Regions from separate parts of the Homo sapiens genome. Here region 2 is linked to region 1. Evidence: promoter capture Hi-C in 16 types of primary human blood cells and fetal thymus (Javierre and others, 2016). All regions are on one chromosome and are shown on one strand. Each heading gives the region's core, a stretch centred on a gene start or on the middle of the fragment in contact. The rest is flanking DNA. Distances are from core to core; before and after follow the strand shown.

The links. The method cuts DNA at HindIII sites, captures the fragments that hold promoters and counts their contacts. A CHiCAGO score of 5 or more calls a contact.
Region 2: a contact is called between a fragment that was not itself captured here and the fragment with the promoter of VPS72 in region 1, in 1 of 17 cell types (megakaryocytes). The highest score is 5.2, in megakaryocytes.

The regions. Positions count from the first base shown.
Region 1 is chr1:151,188,768-151,192,398 of GRCh38, forward strand. VPS72 (vacuolar protein sorting 72 homolog) reads right to left here and starts at 1,430. Exons shown (of 6, transcript NM_005997.3): 1 at 1,238-1,430. The coding sequence starts at 1,354. RefSeq lists enhancers at 1,405-1,474, 1,515-1,574. The HindIII fragment of the contact is 16,139 bases long and covers 1-3,631 here.
Region 2 is chr1:151,092,148-151,095,750 of GRCh38, forward strand. It overlaps GABPB2 (GA binding protein transcription factor subunit beta 2), which reads left to right. Exons shown (of 9, transcript NM_144618.3): 4 at 1,045-1,239. Among named protein-coding and RNA genes, the nearest start is that of GABPB2, 23 kb to the left of the region's middle. The HindIII fragment of the contact is 2,507 bases long and covers 665-3,171 here.

The DNA of each region.
Region 1 (3,631 bases), core at 180-2,679:
CAACAACTTTGGTTCAGATGTATTACCTTAACACTCTTACACCTTGTTTTAGTCCTTATCACACATTTTTTGTTTGTTTTTGAGACGGAGTCCTGCTCTGTCGCCCAGGCTGGAGTGCAGTGGTACGATCTCGGCTCACTGCAACCTCCTCCTCCCAGGTTCAAGCGATTCTCTGCCTCAGCCTCCTGAGTAGCTGGGACTATAGGCGCACACCACCACGCTTGGCTAATTTTTGTATTTTAATAGAGACAGGGGGTTTTACCATGTTGGCCAGGATGGTCTCGATTTCCTGACCTTGTGATCCACCCGCCTCGGCCTTCCAAAGTGCTGGGATTACAGGCGTGAGCCACTGTGCCCGGCCAAAGCCACTGTGCTCGGCCTATCACACAGTATTTTAACTGTTAACCCAGGCAGTTACCCCACTGGGGCATGGAGTATGTAAGGACAGAGCACTGTTTTTAATATTCTGTTTCCCTAGAGCCTAAAACAACCTATTACCGATGGCATGCTCTGGGTACTCAACACATTTAATAAACGGGTAGATTCAACTAATAAAAATTTAGCAAGTGGCAGCCCAGTCCGGACACCTCACACATAATGTTGAACAAAACAGACCATCTCTAACTTTATACAGTTTACAATGCAATAGAAAAGCATAAGCAAGTAAGCAAACCAAATCTAATTGCAAATTGAAATATGTTCTGTGGAAGAAATAAATGGGGACACTTGTTAGGATAGTCAAGGAAGGGTTATCTTCCTGAGAAAACATTTACACTGAGACCTGAAAGCTGAAAAAGAAGTGGGCTAAGCTCCTCTACTTTTGGAGCGGTTCCTTTCCATGTCTCAGGTGAATAATCCAGCAGTGGGCCAACGAGTATACATCGAGCAACTGTCTACTACTATGTGTGTGCCTCGTGTATGCTGGACGTCAGAAGTACAGTGAAAGATGCAACCACGCAAGTATACGGTAGGTTTCTGCCGTTCTCTGTTCTCTGGAGTGCCTCCGGAGAGCTTCTCCGTCTCAGGCCCCTTTGACCCCATCCAGAGCTCTCCCTTCTAGGACTCCACACTATCCGTTCCCCCGCCTCGCCCCCCGGCTCCGATTCACCCACCCAACTCGAGTATCAGCTCCCAGAGCTCCTCTCTATTCCCCGCCCTCTTCTTCTTTGTCCGGGGTTTCTCCCTTCAGGGCTCCTCTTTGCCTCCTCCCCTCCCTTTTCCCAGGCCCGGATCTTGCCTCTGTGAAACCCCCATAAGTCGTCTGGTAGAACTCATCTTCCTCCTCTGCCTCCAAAAGCCCAGAAAGCCGGTTCCCAGCGGTCTTCCGGGGTGCCCGGCCCCCAGCCAAACTCATACCGCCTACCGAGACTGCGCCGCCACCTGCAGCCCCTCACCAGCTCGGTTTTGGGAGCTCGACGCTCGACATCACTACCTGCGGGTGGCCACCAGCGGCGGAAGTCGGGCGTTTACAGGCAGAAGTAACAGAGTGTCGAGAGACTCCCAGTCCCACCCTCTAAACCCTCTTTACTCTTCAGCCTCTCCTACTCCTGCGCGGATGCTCTAGGCCGCTTGCTCTAGTACCCAGCGATCTCCCTTGCTCAATGAGTCCACTTGGTGGTACGAAGACCCCCATAACCCTAAGTCAACACATTTTATTTTATTTATTTTTATTTTATATATATATATGGTTTTTTTTTTCCGTAGGGACGGAGTCTCGCCTCGCTCTGTCGCCAGACTGGAGTGCAGTGGCACGATCTCGGCTCACTGCAACCTCCGTCCCCCGGGCTGAAGCGATTCTCCTGCCTCAGTCCCCCGAGTAGCTGGGATTACAGGCGCCCGCCACCATGCCCAACTAATTTTTGTATTTTTAGTAGAGACAGCTTTCACCGTGTTGGCCAGGCTGGTCTCGAACTCCTGACCTCAGGTGATCCGCCCGCTTCGGCCTCCCAAAGTGCTGGGATTACAGGCATAAGCCTGCGCCCCCAGCTCACATTTTCTTTTAGAAGAGGTCATTCTCTCCGCTCCAGTCCATTTTCTACACTGCTGCTAGTAGGAAACTTTCTAAAAACCCACGTTTTGCCACTCCTGTCCTCAAACATTTTTAATGGCTCCACATCATCTACAAGATAAAGTCAAAAATCCTTGAGGAAGGAAGCATAGTATTGTGGTTAAAAACACAGCCATAGACATTTATCCAAAGGAAAGGACATAATTCAACCTGAGGAAGCCAATTTAGGAGGAAAAAAAAAAAGGAAATCAGTATATCCAAGAGACGTCTGCACTCCATATTTATGCACCCCCATATTTATTGCAGCACTACTTAGAGTAGCCAAAATAGGAAATCAATCTCTGTGTCCAACAACAGATGAATAAAGGAAATAGGGTGTATATACACAATGGAATACTTTTCAGCCATTAAAAAGAAGAAAATCCTGTCATTTGCAGCAACATGGATGGAACTGGAGGACATGTTAACTGACTTAAGCCACGAACAGAAAGTTAAAACACTGCATGTTCTCACTCATATGTGACGCTTTTAAAAAGTTGATTTCATAGAAGTGAAAGAACAGAGGATACTGGAGGCTGGGAAGAGCAGGGGGAAGGAAGGGACAGGGAAAGATTTGTTAAAAGACACAAAATTGTGGCTCACACCTGTAATCCCAGCACTTTGGGAGGCCGAAGGGGGTGGATCATGAGGTCAGGAGTTCACGACCAGCCTGGCCAAGATGGCGAAACCCCATCTCTACTAAAAATACAAAAATTAGCTGGTCGTGGTGGTGGGCGCCTGTTATCCCAGATACTCGAGAGGCTGAGGCAGAGAATTGCTTGAACTCGGGAGGCGGAGGTTGCAGTGAGCCGAGATCGCGCCATTTGCTCTCCAGCCTGGGAAACAGAGCAAGACTCCGTCTCAGAAAAAAAAAAAAGACAAAATTGGGCCTGGCACAGTGGCTCACACCTGTAATCCCAGCACTTTGGGAGGCTGAAGCGGGCAGATCCCGAGGTCAAGAGATTGTGACCATCCTGGCCAACATGGTGAAACCCCGTATCTACTACAAATACAAAAATTAGCTGGGTGTGGTGGCGCGCACCTGTAGTCCCAGCTACTAGGGAGGCTGAGGCAGGAGAATCGCTTGAACCCGGGAGGCAGAGGTTGCAGTGAGCTGAGATTGTGCCACTGCACTCCAGCCTGGCAACAGAGCAAGACTCCATCTCAAAAGAAAAAAAAAAAAGACACAAAATTACAATTTTTTTTGAGACAGGGTCTCTATTGCCCAGGCTGGAGTGCAGCAGCAGGATCATGGCTCACTGCCTCCTTGACCTCCTGGGCTCAAGCTGTCCTCCCACCTTGGCTTCCAAAAGTGCTAGGATTACAGCTGTGAGCCACCACACTGGCCCCCAATTACATTTGTTTGTTCGTTTGTTTGTTTGTTTGAGATAGGATCTCACTTTGTCACCCAGGCTGGAATACAGTGATGCAATCACTGCTCACTGCAGTCTCGACCTCCTGGGTTCAAGTGATCATCGCACCTCAGCCTCGTGGGTAGCTGGAACTACAGGCTCGTGTCACCACGCCTGGCTAATTTTTTGTACTTTTTGTGGAGATGAGATTTCATCATGTTGCCCACGGTGA
Region 2 (3,603 bases), core at 668-3,167, 96 kb before region 1:
CCAGGCTGGAGTGCAGTGGCGCAATACTGGCTCACTGCAACCTCTGCCTCCCAGGTTCAAGCGATTCTCCTGCCTCAGCCTCCGGAGTAGCTGGGACTACAGGCGTGCTCCACCACACCCAGCTAATTTTTATATTTTTAGTAGAGATGGGGTTTAACCATGTTGGCCAGGATGGTCTACATCCCTTGACCTCGTGATCCACCCGCCTCAGCCTCCCAAAGTGCTGGGATTACAGGCGTGAGCCACCGCACCCAGCCATTTTTTTAAAATCATATTTAAAAAAAAAATACAGATGAGATCTCACTACGTTGACCAGGCTGGTCTCAGACTCCTGGCCTCAAGTGATCCTTCCATCCTCAGCCTTCCAAAGTTCTGGGATTACAGGCATGAGCCATTGCTCCCAGCCTAGTTTTCCAATTTATTATTATTATTATTAATGGTTTTTGTTTTTTTTTTTTGGAGACGGTGGTCTCACTCTGTCACCCAGGCTAGAGTGTGGTGGTGCAGCCTCCACCTCCCAGGCTCAAGAGATTCTCCTACCTCAGCCTCCCCTTTAGCTGGGACAACGGGCATGTACTACCACGCCTGGCTAATGTTTTGAATTTTTTGTAGAGGCATGTTTTTTCACCATGTTCCCCAGGTTCATCTTGAACTCCTGAGCTCAAGCTTTTCTAATTTTTTAAAGGCTAAACAGACTTACTGATTTTTCTTCTTTCCGTTCCTGAAGGTATTCTCTGCACTTATGCCTATTTATTCAGGCACTTGGCTTTCTGTTAATAAATGCAACAAAAATCTGTTCTTTCTCTCTTTGTCTTCCATCTGTTTAATTTCCCATTGATGTCCTTAGAGGACCCACTCGTTGAAAGCATTATGTCTGTCAGCATTTAGGAGAATTTGAGAAATGTTTTTCCCTTTGATATTCCTTAAATGTGATCTAGATTTGAGTACGTAATCTCTATGGAAATCCTCTGTATTTGATGATGGGATGTTGCACCTGTGCTACTATAACCGCTGTTTGTTGAAAAAAATGCTTTTCTGTGACAGAATGGTGCAGATGTGAATGCCAAGGACATGCTGAAGATGACAGCTTTGCATTGGGCCACAGAGCGCCACCATCGAGATGTCGTAGAGTTACTTATCAAATATGGAGCTGATGTCCATGCTTTCAGCAAATTTGATAAATCAGCCTTTGACATAGCTCTGGAGAAAAACAATGCTGAGATTTTGGTCATCCTCCAGGTGTGGTTCTTTTTATACTCTCCAGAATGTATGTTAATTGAAGTTAAGGATTTTTTTGTAGGAGCTGAATCAAAACTGAATTTTCCCTATTTTATTAAAGTAGCACTTCTAATATGTCTCAATCTTGTGACTCAGTGTCATTAGTATCTTTAAAATACAGCTATGTATAGAATATATATTTGTGTGTATATATGTATACGCATATATATTTTTTATATTTTTTATATATATTTTTTAATATATATATTCTATAAAGCCCTGAATTAATCATGGTGATTAAAGAACCATGTTGTGGCTAGTACCAAAAACATTTATTTGGCTTTAGAATGTCTTTTTCTCCATGAAAATTTCCCTTTCTAATTAAACTTGACTTGGGACAATATTAAAAGTTACTTGATGTTTTCTGAATATTCATCAACTGATGTGAGACAGTATACAGATGCTCCTTGACTTATGATAGGGTTACTTTGGATCCATTTATGATGAGTTTATGCAGGTGTAACCCCATCATAAGTCAGATCACTTTCACACCATGGCAAAGTTGAAAAATTGTAAGTTGAACCCTTGTAAATTGGGGACTATCTATGAAGCTCTAAAGCATATTGAGTGATAAGGAAGCCACTTCAGAATTTAAAATTAACTGTGATGATTTCGTCCTTTTTTTTTTTTTTTTTTTTTTTTTTGAGGCAGAGTCTCACTCTGTTGCCCAGGCTGGAATGCAGTGGCATGATCTCAGCTCACTGCAGCCTCCATTTCCTGGGTTTGAGGGATTCTTCCACCTTAGCCTCCCGAGCAGCTGGGACAATAGCCACACACTACCATGACCAGCTTATTTTTGTATTTTTAGTAGAGACAGGGTTTCGCCATGTTGCCCAGGCTGGTCTCGAACTCCTAACTTCAGGTGATCCACCTGCCTTGGCCTCTCAAAGTGCTGGGATTACAAGTGTCAGCCACTGTGCCGGCTGTGTCCCATTAATTTCTGTTTCCCACCCCCGACCCCGAGATAGAGTCTCACTCTGTTGCCCAGTGCAATGGCACGATCTCGGCTCACTGCTTGGATTCAAGTGATTCTTCCTCCTCAGCCTCCTGAGTAGCTGAGATTACAGGCACCTGCCATCATGCCCAGCTAATTTTTGTATTTTTGTAGAGACAGGGTTTCACCATTTTGGCCAGGCTGGTCTTGAACCCCTGACCTCAGGTGATCCGCCTGCCTCGGCCTCCCAAAGTGCTGGGATTACAGGCGTGAGCCACTGCGCCTGGCCTGCCCATTAATTTCTTAAGCCAGCACTGTACATCAGGGAACAATAGGACAGGGGATATAAAAATTAACAGGACATGGGCCAGGCGTGGTGGCTCATGCCTGTAATCCCAACACTTTGGGAGGCCGAGGCAGGTGGATCACCTGAGGTCAGGAGTTCGAGACCAGCCTGGCCAATATGGTGAAATCCCGTCTCTACTAAAAATGCAAAAAAAATTTGCTGGGCATGGTGACGTGTGCCTGTAATCCCAGCTACTCGGGAGGCTGAAGCAGGAGAATCACTTGAACCTGGGAGGCAGAGGTTGCAGTGAGCCAAGATCGCGCCACTGCACTTGAGCCTGGGTGACACAGCAGGATTCCATCTCAAAAAAAAAAAAAAATTAATAGGACATGAAGTGTTGAAAGCATGATAAAAGTAAAGACAGGCAAGAAAATATTATAATATTGCATAATAAATAGATATCTAGTAAGTGCCATGGGAGCACAAAGGAGGGAATAGTGGAATCTGAACTGAATATTGAAGTAGGCAGAGAAGTGAGAAAACTATATTCTAGCCTAGAAAAAGAGCAAATCAAAGACACAGAGGTGTGAAAGAACGTGGAATGTTCAAGAAAAAGTAGTTGAGTGATGAGAGAATGGGCAAAGGAAGTAGAGTTTGGGAGTGGCAGATGCTAAGCTTGAAAGTTAGGCTGGATTCTGAATGTAGGGATGCTTTACAGCGTGTGAAGGAGTTTGAACTATTATGTGGGCGATGCATTTGGATAGAAGTTTTTAAATAGAGGACTGATATGACTAAATTTGGTTTAAAAAGATGATTGTTTGGAATGTGGCACACAGATGAGAGAGACACTTAATGCTAAATAACTATACGGTGACTTTCATTAGGCCAGGCAAGGGCCAATGAGAACTTGAACCAAGGAAGTGCTACTATTTCGCCACGTAGCAGTACTACTCTTCCCTCCTCTGTGCTCCCATAGCACTTACTAGATGTCTGTTTATCATGTAATATTGTAATATTTTATTTCCTATCTTTAATTTTATCGTGCTGTGAACACTTCATGTCCTAGTGGAGGATAAAGGAAAAGGGCAAATTCAAGAAGGAATTT